3 separate regions of the Homo sapiens genome follow, and regions 2 and 3 are each linked to region 1. Evidence: promoter capture Hi-C in 16 types of primary human blood cells and fetal thymus (Javierre and others, 2016). All regions are on one chromosome and are shown on one strand. Each heading gives the region's core, a stretch centred on a gene start or on the middle of the fragment in contact. The rest is flanking DNA. Distances are from core to core; before and after follow the strand shown. Region 1 holds the start of MICU2 (mitochondrial calcium uptake 2). Region 2 overlaps SPATA13 (spermatogenesis associated 13). Region 3 overlaps MIPEP (mitochondrial intermediate peptidase).

Region 1 (4,997 bases), core at 1,132-3,631:
GGCTCTGAAAGACAAAGTTTTAAAATGTGCATTTTGGCCGGGCGCTGTGGCTCACGCCAGTAATCCCAGCACTCTGGGAGGCCAAGGCAGGCGGATCACGAGGTCAGGAGATCGAGACCATCCTGGCCAACATGGTGAAACCCCGGCTCTACTAACAATACAAAAAAAAATTAGCTGGACGTGGTGGCGTATGCCTGTAATCCTAGCTACTTGGGAGGCTGAGGTAGGAGAATTACTTGAACCGGGGAGTTAAGAGGTTGTAGTGAGCCGGGATCACGCCACTGCACTCCAGCCTGGGTGACAGAGACTCCATCTCAACAACAAAAAAAAAGTGCATTTTACTCTTGGCAAAATGAGACACTGAAGAAGGGTTTCTGAAGAAGGGTACACTGTGTGGTTAAAGTGATACTCCGGAGAAGATTAACCTAAGGGTCTTAAAAACAGGATGAATCGGCCGGGCGCAGTGGCTCACGCCTGTAATTCCAGCACTTAGGGAGGCCAAGGCGGGCGGATCACGAGGTCAGGAGATCGAGACCATCCTGGCTAATACGGTGAAACCCCGTCTCTACTAAAAACACAAAAAATTAGCCGGGCGCGATGGCGGGCGCCTGTAGTCCCAGCTACTCGGGAGGCTGAGGCAGGAGAATGGCGTGAACCCGGGAGGCGGAGCTTGCAGTAAGCCGAGATAGCGCCACTGCAGTCCGGCCTGGGCGACAGAGCGAGACTCCTCTCAAAAAAAACAAAAACAAAAACAAAAAACAAACAAAAAAACCAGGATGAATCTAGGGGAGAGAAACTAATGATGAATACACTGAACTCCTTGGCACAAGATTCACAAAAATGCTATAAAAACACTAGATAATAGATCTTTCCATTATATATGTTTACAATATAATTATAATGTATGTTAATACAAATAAGGAATATCAGTTGCCAATACTTAATTTTAACTCACAAGGCCTTCTTTCCTCTCTTTTTTGTTGTATCTGAATGTTCCTTGAGTTTTTCGCTAGAAAGGCATAATGTAAATCTAAAAAAGAAAATAATAAACTACTACTTTCAATTTTCAAAAAAGCTCATATGTAAAAACTTACTAAGTCTACAAAAATTTTAAAGCACTACTCATTCAAATTTTCAAATGCGTTACAACATCATTTATCCTGAAATAGGGAACTTGAATCTTTTTTTTTTTTTTTTGAGACGGAGTTTCGCTCTTGTAGCTCAGGCTGGAGTGCAATGGCTCGATCTTGGCTCACTGCAACCTCCGCCTCCCGGATTCAAGCGGTTCTCCTACTTCAGCCTCCCGCCACCACACCCAGCTAATTGTTTATATTTTTTAGTAGAGACCGGGGGGGCGGGGCTGGGGTGGGGAGCGGCTTCACCATGTTGGCCAGGCTGGTCTCGAACTCCTGACCTCAGGAGATCCACCCGCCTCGGCCTCCCAAAGCCCTGGGATTAAAGGCGTGTGCCACCGCGCCCGGCGGACTCTTGTCTTTAATAGATGGAGGTTTTAGGAGCAATTTTTGCTTAGAACTTATGGTCCACTAAGATATTAAGGTTTATAATCATGCAATAATGTTCCTTAAAGTTGATAATAAAATCTGGAAATCAACTGGTTAATTTTTGTGGCTGACACATTCGTGACTTAAAAAAGCAATCGACAGAACTTCATCATGCTATACAAAGAAAAGATCGTAAAACTTAGTTGCAAAGCTTAACAAAGGTATATCCCACAGGGGTAACTGGACGCAAACCACCTGCGGATGTGAATGCCACTTCACTGACCAGAGAGGTAGCAAGAGGCGAGGCGCAGTGAGATTCTGAATTAGGAGCCTCGAATTAAGACACGCCCACACTCATCACCACTAAATTAGTGCGGCCAGTTTTGTGGGCCGTGGTGTTCAGCGTCCGCGGGGTTCTCCCAAGGGAGGCAGAATCTCCGGTCACCAGCCTCGAAGGCCCTCGGGGACTCAGGCCGGGGGCCGGTCCAGGAAGGAGCGAGTCCCACCAGTCGCAGGGCGCTCCGATCCGCAGCGGCACCTCCACCCACGGCTCCGGGAGAGCCGCCCAGAGCCAAACCACTCCCCGCCTAAGGGCGTCAGGGGAGGGAGGAGCTTGACTGGGGCTAGCAGAAGGAGTTAGTCCTGTACCTGTGCGGAGACTGTAAAACTGCCATCCCGCGCCGCAACACTGACGCGGCTGTGGTGCCAGGCCGCTCCTGCTCCTGCCAGGGCCGCGCCGGCCACTGCCGCTGCCAAGGGGCCGGGACTCCGCACAGCCTGTCGGCTGACAGCGAGCCCCCGTCGCAGTTTTCCGCCCCAGGCCGCCACCCGCGCGCAGCTACCCGCAGCCGCCGCCATCTTTGCGGAAGCGCAGCTAGGCGGCGCTTCTCTCCCGGCGCCGCCGCCTACCGCTTGGGAACTCTCGCGACATCCGACAGGCTTCCGCCCCGCCTACCGGGCCTGCGCCGTGGGTGCGGTTGCTGAGGCGACGCTCGCAGCCGCAAGAGGTGGCCTTCGGTTCCGGGGCTGCCTTCTAAGGCTGTGGGGATGGGATGACAGGAAGAGTATCAAGACAGTATAATATGACTTCCTAGTCCAAAACAAGATAGTGCCCTCGGTTGTGTGGGCAGGTTTCTCCTTTTCATTTTTTCACCTTGTAAAACTGTGAAACGTTTTTTGAAATAGTCTCTTCTGCATCTGTGTTGTTCATGTCTTCCTATGCTTATAGTCTTGACTGTTCTTTCATTTCTGCTAAAACAACTCTCAGACAAGGCATTCTGTTTATTTCAGTCCCTCACTATTTGCTTATAATGAATTTAAATTCAGTTTCAACAAAAGGTTTGATAGTAGCTCTTATCCTACCTAGAACTAAAAGTCAGAGACAGCAGCACACCAGCCCCATGTCTCTATCATCAGGGACCCAGAGGTTTTCCCCAGTGCAGATTTAGAACGATACCTCCAGTCCTGGCTGTTGCATTGGTGATAAGTGATGTAGCTGAGGCAGACTACTTGGTTTTATTTAACAGCCTCCAATCCTCCATTCTTTGGTCTTCACTTTTCCTGAGTAACTCTTTTTAATAAACTCTTTGTTCAGCCTCTGAAATGTCCCCAGCTATTAGAAGCTTTAGTTGGGCATGCAGTAACGGAGCCAACATCAAAGGGGCCAAGACTCCTAATCACATAATCACTGCTGTCTTGAAGTTTTGCACAAAACAAAACTTCAAGAAACAAAAACAAAAACCTGTCACACGAAATCTAATTTGATCATTCAGTGGAAGTTCCGTGGATCCCTTTGTTATTATCTGCCCTTAATCCTTGCTCCCTTTCTCTTAGCCCGCTTGTCTAAATTAATCTGCAGTCAGAGGTTCCTCACTTTTCCGTCAGCTTCTGGACTTACTTTTCAGTGTGCCTTCCCAGGTAGGAAGTAGAGAGATGAGCCTCACTTCACCGACTTGTGAGCCAGACCTCAAGGTTTGAATCTTAGCTCTACCAGGATGATCACTGTGGTTTGGGGCAAATTATTTAATCTCTCTGAGTCTCCATTTTCTCATTTGTAAATAACTCACGATTTGGTAGATGATCACTGCTATTTGGGGTAAGGTATTTAATCTCTTTGAGTCTCAATTTTTTCATCTGTGAACAACCCTCTTACAGTTTGGGGTGGGGAAGCTAAATGAGATATTTTATATAAAGTGACTAGCCAAATGCCTGGCACATGGTAGGCTCATGACAGATGTGCGTTTACTGTGGTCAAGGTTTGGTTTACTTCTGCCCTGTGAACACAAATGAGCTTGACTGAATGTCCATGATTCCAGATCACTAGCCCATCTTAACCTGAGATTTTCCTGCTTTTTTGTATCTAGCCTGACTTTGTCAACCTCTGGACTGTTTTTCACCTCTGCTAACTCTGGTAGCTTTGGCACATGTCCTGCTTTTCTGGACTATTGACATCTAGCTTGTTTCCTGGTGATAATAGGACTTCCAGGATATTTTGGACACCCTGGATGTCTTACCTTGTAGTTTATTCTTGATTTCCAGAAACCACAGTCTTTACGTGTATACTTCTAACTGCCTCACACAGTTCCTCTAGGTATTTAATGAAACCTGGCATCTATTACTCAGTATTGCCTTAAGCCCAAGATAAGTTTAGATTCCCATTAAAACATGTAGCATATTTAAGAACATTGTCTTTCTCCCACAATTTGACATCCTTGTGGGTGAGATGTCTTCCTTTTCCCTGTTTCTCTAGCACCTAGCACAATGCCCAGCACGTAATAGACATTCAATGAGTGAGTAAATAAGTGAATAAATAAATGGCACAAATGAAACTCAGGGGTTCATATTTCTATGCTTTGGCCATCCAAAATACAGAAGTATATTATTCCTTTGGGGTACTTTATTTTCAAAACAAAAGCTTCTTTTTATTTTGCCAAAAATCTTTGAACCCACTTGGAAAACAGTGTAATTAGTTATTTTTTAAATTTTCATTATGTGCCCAGGCATCTAGAACTCTCACTTATAATTTAATGTATTCAAACTTTTCTTATGCAGAGGAAACAAATTCTTATAATAGAACCAATCTCTAGTCGAATAACCATTCTAAGTATGAAATCTTCCTTGGCAGCTGCTGACATTTGTCTAAGCACATTGACTATATTGGTCTTTTTGGGCTCCAGCTTTGTTCATTTCTTCATCATCAGCTGTAAAGTCCTGGGCTGGGATGTATTTTCAACCATGCAGTTTATAAACCAACCCCCAAATAAGAAGCTGCTTCTAAAGCTGTACATTGTATGCTGTTTTAAATAACTGGACGAAAACAGGATGGAAATACTTATTGTTTCAAAGTATTCTTAATTCACTTACTCCTGCTCTTTTTTTCTGAAGAAGAACGAAAGTGATATGTCAGAAAAACTGCTCTTAAGGAGCTTTATTTTCACTGGAGAGGCTAGGCTTGAATTTCAAAACAATTGTCTCTGACTTTTATACTGTACAGAG
Region 2 (4,997 bases), core at 2,099-4,598, 2.7 Mb after region 1:
TGCTCCAAGGTGAAAGCAGTTGCTTTGAAGGCATGAAGAGAGGCACTTTTTCTTCATAGCTGTCTTGAAGCAGGCCGGGGCGAGTCTCACAGAGTTTGCCCTTGTACTTCAGGCTCCATTTCCTGAGCTGTGTATGATGGGGCCCGCCCCTCCTGTGGTGAAGAGTCTGTGGCTGCTGAGTGGCATTTCAGTCAGACCTGAACTGAGCCTGCCTTTGCCCAACAGGAGTCGGCCTGCTGAGGCAGCATCTACCCGGCTCATCAGTTTGTGCTAGGACATGCCATGCCCTGTGTTACGTTCAATGCCTTTCAGGTTCCTCTGGAAAGTAGCATCACTGTGACCTGTAGATTAATAATCATGTTTGTCTTTAATCCATTTAGAATGAAGAGGTCACTCTCGGCACTCGATGATTTAGGGGAATGGACATTGGCCTGAATAACTGATAGCAAATGTAGCAAATTATTTCCTGTGAAGGACTCTCCCATCCCAACTTTAGAAAGTGCAGCCCCGTCTCAGCTGTGGGAGATGGCCAGTGATGTCCACAGGTCCTGGCTGTGTCACTCCTGATTCTGTGTAGTCATTGTCCATATGGGAGTTGGGATTATGGGTCATTCCAGCCCGTGGCAGCCTTGGTTCTTGGCTGATGTGCCCATCCTTCCGCCCATGTCCTAAAGCTGATGGCCATGCTTTCCCAGGGGACAGCATGACTCTCCCCTGGGGCCTGCCTCTCTGCCTAGCACCTGTCCTGTAGTTCTTGGTAATGGGGCCATATCAAAGTTAGTGGGGACATAAAGTTCCAAGGATGTTCCTGGGTTCTGGATATGTCTGTACCATGAAGGGAGGCAGCTGCTTTGCAGAAACAACAGGGAAGCTGCAGCAGGTGGGAAACTTTGGTGCTGGTCATCTCTCTGCACTTAATTCGGAGGTGATCATAGAAGAAAATATCTACCATGTCATACTTAAAATAAGAAGATATCAGAAATGTGGAGCTCAAAGGAACCTTAATGGCCACTCAATCTCAAGAACCTTAATGAACCTACTCAGTCTCCAGAAATCCTCCTAGAGAGGTCAAGTGCTGACTACTGTTGTGAGTTTGAGATACTGCTATTAACTTGCCTCTCCAAGAATTTTATGACATTTCTTTCCCATAGGTATGTAAATATATATGGGTTTTGGGACCAGCTTACCAAAAATAACTTTCTGTATCTATAGAATAAAATTGATCATAACATCCTATGTGTTTTCAACATCTATTTTTAAAAATTAATTTTAATTTTTATAGAGATAATGTCTTGCTCTGTCACCCAGGCTGGAGGGCACTGGCCCAATCATAGCTCACTGCAGCCTCGATCTCCTGGGCTCAAGGGATTCTCTCACCTTAGCCTCCTGAGCAACTGGGACTCAAGGCATGTGTCACCAAGCTGGGCTAATTTTTTTATTTTTTGTAGAGATGGGGTCTGCCTATGTTGCTCTGGCTGGTCTCAAACTCCTAGCCTCAAGTGATCCTCCCACCTTGGCCTCCCAAAGTGCTGGGATCAAGGCATGAGCCACCACACACAATCTTCAGTGTTTATTTTGTCCTCTCTGATTTCTCAACATTTAATATTAATATGTAAGTTGGATATCTCCACTCCTACCTACGGATCTGATCCCTGTGCTTAATCCTTTTACAGTGTTGCCAATAATCAATGATGGTCATTTCCCAGTTCCAGTGAGGTAGTGGTATCTTATCCAAAGAGAAGAGATTAATTTGGGGGTTGGATTTTTCTTTTTTCTTTTTTTTTTTCCAAGTCAGGGCTTCCCTCTGTCACCCAGGCTGGTGTGCAGTGGTACAATCTCAGCTCTCCGCAGCCTCAACCTCTCAGTCTCAAGTGATCCTTCCTCCTCAGCCTCCCAAAGTGCTGGGATTATAGGTGTGAGCCACCAATGCCCAGCCAGGATTTTAAGACTTCTTTGAACTATGGTTTAGGTTTTCGTTGTAGGATTCTTACTGATCTGGTAAATGTAGGCTCTGATCACTAAAAAAAAAAATTAAGCTGAAAGTCCTATCTCCTTGTTCTATCATGCCCCTTTCTACATTAGTAGTGGCTTCTTCCAAAACTATCTTAGAAGGGTGGCTGGCAGATGTGCCCATCCTTGAGCCCATTTCCTAAAGTTGATGGTAGTCCTTTGCCACAGAATAGTGTGACTCTCTTCCCTGGGACTCTTCCATCTAGCACCTGTCCTGTAGTGCTTGGTAATGGGGCCATATCCAAGCTGGTGGGGACATAAAGGGGTTGTTGGGTCACATCCTTTGAGAAGATGCCTGATTTCAAGGCAGTCTTTGTTTATTTACTTGTTTTCCTTCTTTTTATTTTGTTTTGCCTACACAATAATCTCTAGTGAATGCCTCTGGCTTAAGATCCTGTAATCCCAAGGATGTTAGTCTAGTGCCCTGACCCCGTCTCTGGATTGAGAAAAAGTGCTTGGGAAACAGAAACTATCCTCTTGTACCGGATGCCGATGAAAAGTGAAAGTGAGCAAACAGCCTACCAAGTTCTAAGAAAATGAGGCCAAGAGAGCTTTTGCTTTTTGAAAACTAATGATTTTAACCAAAAAAAAAATTTTTGTAGAAAATGAAAACACTGGATTTTATTTGCCTCCTTCTGGAATTTAGGCTTTGTTGGAATGGATAACCTTGAGAATTAATTCCTACTTTCTGCTGCTTTGTGTCTGAGTATTATGCATTTTACCTTTTCATTCTGACTAAACTCAAGCCCACCCATTCATTCCATGGTCTTCACTAGTTAGAAAAGATACTGATATTGAAGATTTTGCCTCATGGCAGTGCTTCTCCAAGTATGTTGTATAGTTTCTTGAGTTGTCTAGAACAACACTTCTGAAACCTGAATGTGCATTTGAATAACCTGGGATGTTGTTAAAATGTTGATTCTGATTCTGCAGACCTGGGGCAGGGCCCAGGAATCTGAATTTCTCACCAGCTCCCAGTCATGCTGATACTGCTGGTCCATGGGCCCTACTGTGAGTAGCAAGGCCAGAGGATACTTTCTTTTGGTGTAGTAATATGTGTTGTCATAAAAAAAGAGCGTCATAGCCAAATACGATTGTTAAATTCTATGTTAAAGAAGATGGCACAGCTGTCAGTGGGAACTTTTTAGAGCCTGTGATTACTGATGAATCCTGTAGGATATCCAAAAGGTAGATACAATATACAGTGGTTTTCAAACTCTTTTCTTGGAGCGTATTATGCCACTAGTATTCCATGAGATATACTTAGGAGACTTTACACGAGAGAGAGAGTAGTCTGCTGTGAAAAACAGTATCGAGGAGTCTTTTGAGCCTATAATTTAATAAACTACCACCTTTATTGAGAATATGCCTGTATTGAATGAATTGTCTATTAAACATCTTAAGTATTTGCCTCTTTTAAATCATCTTTTTAAATTCCTGTAAGAGGCTGGGCGCAGTGGCTCATGCCTGTAGTCCCAGCACTTTGGGAGGCCGAGGTGGGCAGACCACCTGAGGTCAGGAGTTTGAGACCAGCCTGACCAACATGGTGAAACCTCATCTCTACTACAAATACAAAAATTAGCCGGGCATGGTGGTGTGCGCCTGTAATCCCAGCTACTCGGGAGGCTGAGGCAGGAGAATCACTTGAACCCAGGAGGTGGAGGTTGCAGTGAGCCAAGATCGTGCCACTGCACTCCAGCCTGAGTGACAGAGCAAGACTCCATCTCAAAATGAAATAAAATTTCTGTAAGAGAAAGATTTTCAGCTGAACTGGTCATAAGAGTTTGTGTGATCGTGTGTGTTTTTCACTTGTAGTGCGGGTTACTAAGGCTATGAGTTTCCCAGAAAACTGTCCTTACCTGGATTTGAGGGTGGGATGCTCCAGATCAATAGAAATAGCCACAGATATTTGAAGATAAGAGAAGCCTACGATATAGTATATAGTCAACATGTGTGTTATTACTAATCATACAGCTTTCCATTCTGAGTTCATGCTGTGATTTCTCTGGGAACTAGCATGTTATTAAGGGACCTCAGGTTTTTTGGAGCGACAGCAGCAGCGTGACGGCTAACATTTATTAACCCCCAATGAAGAGCCAGTGCTTCTCTAAACACTGCAATATGTTCTCGAGTAATTCTGTGAGGATTATTGATTGGTGCTGCAGTTATCCCCACTCCGCAGATGTGGAAAGAGAGCTGCCTAGAGACTTGGAAACTTTCCCTAATTTTGTTATGGGAAAGCAGCTTTTGAACACAGGCAGTCTGACTCCAAAGCTCATCACTATAAAGCATGCATTTTACTAATTGGCACTATCACTTGTTTAACATGTATGTATGTATGTGTGTATGTATGTATGTGTGTATGTATGTATGTATCTATTTTAGAGACAGGATCTAGCTCTGTAACTCACAACACTGGAGTGCAGTGGTGTGATTATAGTTTACTGCAACCTCGAACTCCTGGGCTCAAGTGATCCTCCCATCTCAGACTCCTGAGTAACTAGGATGACAGGCATGTGCCACTCTGCCCAGCTAATTTTTTATTTTTATTTTTAGAGACAGGATCTTATTCTGTCACCGAGGCTGGAGTACAGTGGTACGATCATAGCTTACTGCAGCCTCCACCTTCTGGGCTCAAGCAATCCTCCCACCTCAGCCTCCTGAGTAGCTGGGACCACAGGCACATGCCACTATGCATGGCTAATATAAATTTTTTTTTTTTTTTTTTTTTTTTTTTAGTAGAGACAGGACCTTGCTATGTTGCCCAGGCTTGTCTCAAACTCCTGGGCTCAATTGATCCTCCCACCTTGGCCTCCCAAAGTGTTGGGATTACAGGTGTGAGCTACCTTGCCCAGACCTAATTTTTTTTTTTTAGAGATAGGGTCTTGCTATGTTGCCCAGACTGGTCATGAATTCCTGGTTTTAAGCAATCCTCCTGCGTCATCCTCCTGAGTAGTTGGGATTACAGGCATGAGCCAGCGGGCCCA
Region 3 (4,997 bases), core at 1,897-4,396, 2.3 Mb after region 1:
TGATATAAAATGGTGTAGTACTTGCATATAACCGACACACAGCACACCCCATACATCAAATCATATCTAGATTACTTGTAATACCTAATGAATGTAAACAATATGTAAATAGCTGATACACTGTATTGTTTTATGGAACAGTGACAAGAAAAGAAAGTCTGTACATGTTCAGTATGAATGCAAATTTTTTTTCCAAATATTTTTGATCCAAGGTTGGTTGACTCCACAGATCCCCCAATCTGGAGGGTTGACGATACAGTGAAATTCACTGACACAGATTTTCCTTTTCTGATTTCTGTGACACAATTAGGTGAACAGGGTATGAAACCTCCTTTTGGCAGTGCGTTTCCACAGCTTCCCCATCATTCAAAGACACATTTCCTATGCACATACTGGAGGCACAGAACAAAAACCCAGTACAACAGAACTACTCAGAGCCTGCAACTTCACTCCAGGGAAAAACCCTTTACAGTAAGATACTTTATCAGTTTTCTTAAGAGCGGGAGGCTTGTGGTGAACATATAATCATCTGAAAGGTGTTAATGCTCAAATCAGTTGTATGGGTGGAAGGAAATTTTCCAAAAAAGGAAAAAAAATAAAGATGGGGATGAGTTATGCTGGGTGAAAGAAGTCAGTCAAAGGTATACAGGATTCCACCTATGTGACATTCTAGAAAAGGCAAAACTATAGGGAGAGAGAACAGATTAGTGGTTGCCAGAGGTTAGTGGGGAGGGGGGGGTGTGACTACAGGGAGATTTTTGGGGGTGGATGGAACAGCTTTGTATCCTGATTGTGGTGAGGGCTGCACAAATTTATACGAGTTAAAATTCATAGAACTGTACCATCCTCCAAAAGAAGTCAATTTTACAGAATAATAATTTTAAAAACAAGTATACATTTTTTTTAAAGATGGAGAGGCTAACAAACTTTGCAACCTTTCCAGGTAAGGATTCATGAGACCTGAGCAGCCAGCCAGCCCTGAAATGGTTGGAACAGGAGAAAGAAGAAGAGCTCGACAGATACCCTGCCTGGGCTGGCAGCCCAGCTGCACCACACGCTGGCCAGCTGACAGCGGGCACATCCCTTCATCACCCAGTGCCTTTCTTCCCTCTTGTGAAAATGGAGATATGCTGAGAAGGTTACCTCAGCTCATCCAGGGAAAGCTTCTTCAGCTAACTAGGCTGTAGAAAGGGCCTACAGTCTAGTTAAATTTCCAAAAACAAGTTAATGCCAGAATATAAACTCCATGAAGTAACAGATTGTGTCTGTTTCATTCCTGCATGTATCCCTCATGCCTAGACAGTGTCTGGCACACAGTACGTGCTCAACATTGACTGAATGTGAGGGAAAAACCTATGCAGTTCTATACCATGTAGACAGGATCATAAATGATCACTATTTAAATTGTGTGTGCTGCTTTCCTTGACAAGAGTAACCAAGAGTCAGCTCCTTCAAGCTGATAGGAAACCCTGCTTCCTGGAAATGAGTATATCGAAGAGATATCTGCACTTCCATGTTTGCTGCAGCTCTGTTCACAACATCCAAGATGAGAAAGCAACCCAACTGTCCATGAACAGATGAATGGATAAAGAAAGTATGGTACTTACACACAATGGAATGCTATTCAGCCATAAAAAAGAATGAGATTATGTCATTTTCAACAACATGGATGGTCATTATGTTTAGTGAAATAAGTCAGGCACAGAAAGACAAACATCACATGTTCTCACTCACTTGTGGGACCTAAAAATAGATACAACTGAATCATGGAAATAAAGAGTAGAAGGATGGTTACCAGAGGCTAGGTAGGGTAGCAGGGTGGCATGGGGGAGGTGGGGATGGTTAATGGCTACAAAAAAACAGGAAGATTGAGTAAGACCTACTATTCGATAGCACAACAGGGTGACTACAGTCAATAATAATTTAATTGTAGATTTTAAAATAACCAGAAGAGTATAATTGGATTGTTTGTAACAGAAAGGATAAATGCTTGAGGGGATGGATACCCCATTTTCCCTGATGTAATTACTATGCATTGCATGCCTCTATCAAAACATCTCATGTACCTCATGAATATATACATGTACCCACAAAAATTAAAAATAAAAAAAAAAGAAAATTTTGCTATCTCAGCAATGGATTTCCTAGTTGCTGAAGAGATCTAGGTATACACTTCTATTTCAAATTTAAAATGTTAAAAAAAAAAAGTCTTTACAATCATTTTGATGTCAAAACTTGGTTTTTAATTAAAAAAAAAAAAGCATTCCTGAAAAGGTTTATTAAAACTGGTTTTCACACCTCTTATGAAAAAGAAGTGGCTCACACTTATAATCCCAGCACTTTGGGAGGCCGAGGCAGGAGGTTCACTTGGGGCTAGGAGTTCAAGATCAGCCCGGGCAACACAGGGAGACCCTGTCTCTATTAAAAAAAAAAAAAAAAGAAAAAGGGGAATTTTGTTGTAAATGTACACATAAAGTGTTCTTAGAATTTTGGGAGACACTTTCATAAATGAAGAATCTCTGTCAAATGAATATATATGTAAATATATATTACCCAAATATAGCAAATATTTGCTATATTAGTATTCATTCATTATATATTACATGTATATTTTATTAAACATACGTATTAAAGTACAAGTTCTAAATATCACCTTTTCCTATAATATTTTCCCATTCCTAATGACATATTTCATCATAAAAAATTATACCCAATGGATCTCAGTTTCAGACATTTTTAACTTTATAATCTAATATTAATAGTAAACAACAAAGGATAAATTTCACTTAAATTTTAACAAGTTGAAAGAGAGGTAGCTTCAAGTCTGAGGTAAAGCACCTTACCAAGTCGGCCACTCTGCATAAGGAATCCGAGAGCTCATCGAAGATCAGCACGGTCTGGGGCCCAGGTGGGGTGGAACATGCACGGTCCACAAGCAATTCTGTCTTTCTCAAGGCTTTTTCTTGTGCAATATGAAATCCTTCTGGGGCACTCAGCTCAGGAACTCCAAAAAGACCCTTAGAACCAAAGAATACGTCTGATTTATAACCAAAATTCAAAATTGTGCTTTTTTTATATTTACTAAAATTACTTTTATCACAAAGGAGATCTTGACTTTCATTGGTGTATCATGTTATACCTGTGATCACAGATACCACTATCATACTCCCCATATCACTCCACATAAATTACACTAAAAATGTTTTCAGAACATAATTTTTCTTCAATTTTTAATTATTTTCCGGAAAAAACAACAACAACAATGGTATGGGTTCAAAATCCAGCTGTCACTTCTACAGAACCTAAGAGTGGCCGCAAAGATTAAATGAGATCATATATGTAAATATATATATATATATACATAAAGCAGTGTTTGGCACAGAGCATTTATAGATGTTAGCCATAATTATTATTAGCTTATAACCCTGGTCATGTTATTTCTCCTCCTAGGAGAAATATTTTTTTCATCATGTACAATGGGAATGACGATACATACCTTACAGCATGGATACAGGTAATAAGTATATGTAAAGTACTAACAGCAGCAGCTGACAAGGTGAGATCTCAGTACATAGTACCAATTATTCTATAACTATCAAATAGGGAGGATGAGTTGACTATGAAGCAATAGATATTTTAGAAAAATGTAATGAACATATTAAAATCATAGGCTGAAACTGGGAGCAAATTTTATACGTTACAAAGACATTTCAATATCTTGATAAAAACAAAAATCACTGATCTAATGGTAATGACCATTCTCTTGTTACCTATTCAATCACACTTGTTAGCACACTCAGGAAGGCAGGGGGAAAAAGCATTTAATATGCACCTACTGCATACCATGAAGTGTGCCTGCTACTTTACATAGGTTCTCATTTAAATCACACAATCCTACAGAACAGAGTATCATTCTTTTACAGATCAGGCCACATGCTTTAAGACGTTAGAAAAAACTTGTTTGAGGTCACAAATTAATATTGGGAAAGACAGAACTCGAACCCGCTCTGTACATCTGTAAAGCCCACACTTTTCCATACTTCTCTATTACAATTTATCTGTTTGAAAGTCTTCTCTCCTGAAAAGGTGAGCTTCCAGACCCAAGAGCCCTGCCCTTCATTTCTTTAACCAGCTATCCAATAGAATGTCTAACACATGGGGGAACTCAATGAAAGAAACAAGTGACCGGAGCAGATGCTAGGCTTTGTTAATTCACTTTGTAGGTGCTTAACGCATAGATTTTCAGAAATACGAACAGGTAAACCTTCAGGCCTGACAAGCCCTACTGTTTCTACAAGAAGGGATGGATGAAGTTAAGCTAGTAATCTCTCTTCAAAATATATTACAAGATAAAAAATAAAATAAAAGAAAGTCAGTGGGAGACAAAGGAAAATCAGGACCAAAAACAAATGTCATCTTTATACTGATTTAATTTGATTCAAGCACAGACTACTTCCACTTCCCAGTACAACCTGCCCATATTGCTCTCGGGAATTCTAACTATCGGATTACCAGTGACCATAATGCTAAAAAACTGAATAAGGCTTTTTTTTTTTCAAGGCAAAAATCAATTCTAAAATTTGAAAATCTGCTATCAGTGCCGAATATCATGATACAAAAAGGGAAAAATAAAAGCTAAAATTAGTTATATCTCATCCACCCAAAATCAGGCTTCCCCTCACGTCTTTCTGCTCAGCGCCTACAAGTAGGTCTCTTCACACCAACTATGTTAATACCAACACTACATACCCTTAAGGAAGGTGGTGTAGCAAATTTCACACAAAATAATTTTTAAATAGACAAAACTGATAATGGAGATAAAACAAGAATCACACACTTTAGCTCAGTGCAACAATACCCTAGACTTGTCTTTATAAGGCAATACAGTATAACGAAATTTTAAAAGGCAAAAATAAAAGTAATCCTTAACCTAAAACGGACAAAATGTACAAACTCCAAGTAGAACAGGCATCAGGTAAGTCCTTTCCAACCTTGCC

The links. The method cuts DNA at HindIII sites, captures the fragments that hold promoters and counts their contacts. A CHiCAGO score of 5 or more calls a contact.
Region 2: a fragment that was not itself captured here is called in contact with the fragment with the promoter of MICU2 in region 1 in 2 of 17 cell types (fetal thymus and naive B cells); the score reaches 6.2 in fetal thymus.
Region 3: a contact is called between a fragment that was not itself captured here and the fragment with the promoter of MICU2 in region 1, in 1 of 17 cell types (naive CD8 T cells). The highest score is 6.7, in naive CD8 T cells.

Annotation. Positions count from the first base shown.
Region 1 is chr13:21,601,789-21,606,785 of GRCh38, forward strand. MICU2 (mitochondrial calcium uptake 2) reads right to left here and starts at 2,382. Exons shown (of 12, transcript NM_152726.3): 1 at 2,151-2,382. The coding sequence starts at 2,360. RefSeq lists enhancers at 1,476-2,095, 2,096-2,714, 2,496-2,565 and a silencer at 2,116-2,325. The HindIII fragment of the contact is 1,411 bases long and covers 1,712-3,122 here.
Region 2 is chr13:24,265,022-24,270,018 of GRCh38, forward strand. All of the region lies in intron 4 of SPATA13 (spermatogenesis associated 13), which reads left to right. Among named protein-coding and RNA genes, the nearest start is that of SPATA13-AS1, 13 kb to the left of the region's middle. RefSeq lists an enhancer at 2,332-2,481. The HindIII fragment of the contact is 8,225 bases long and covers 1-4,997 here.
Region 3 is chr13:23,883,490-23,888,486 of GRCh38, forward strand. It overlaps MIPEP (mitochondrial intermediate peptidase), which reads right to left. Exons shown (of 19, transcript NM_005932.4): 2 at 2,844-3,017. Among named protein-coding and RNA genes, the nearest start is that of PCOTH, 2.9 kb to the right of the region's middle. The HindIII fragment of the contact is 3,971 bases long and covers 1,162-4,997 here.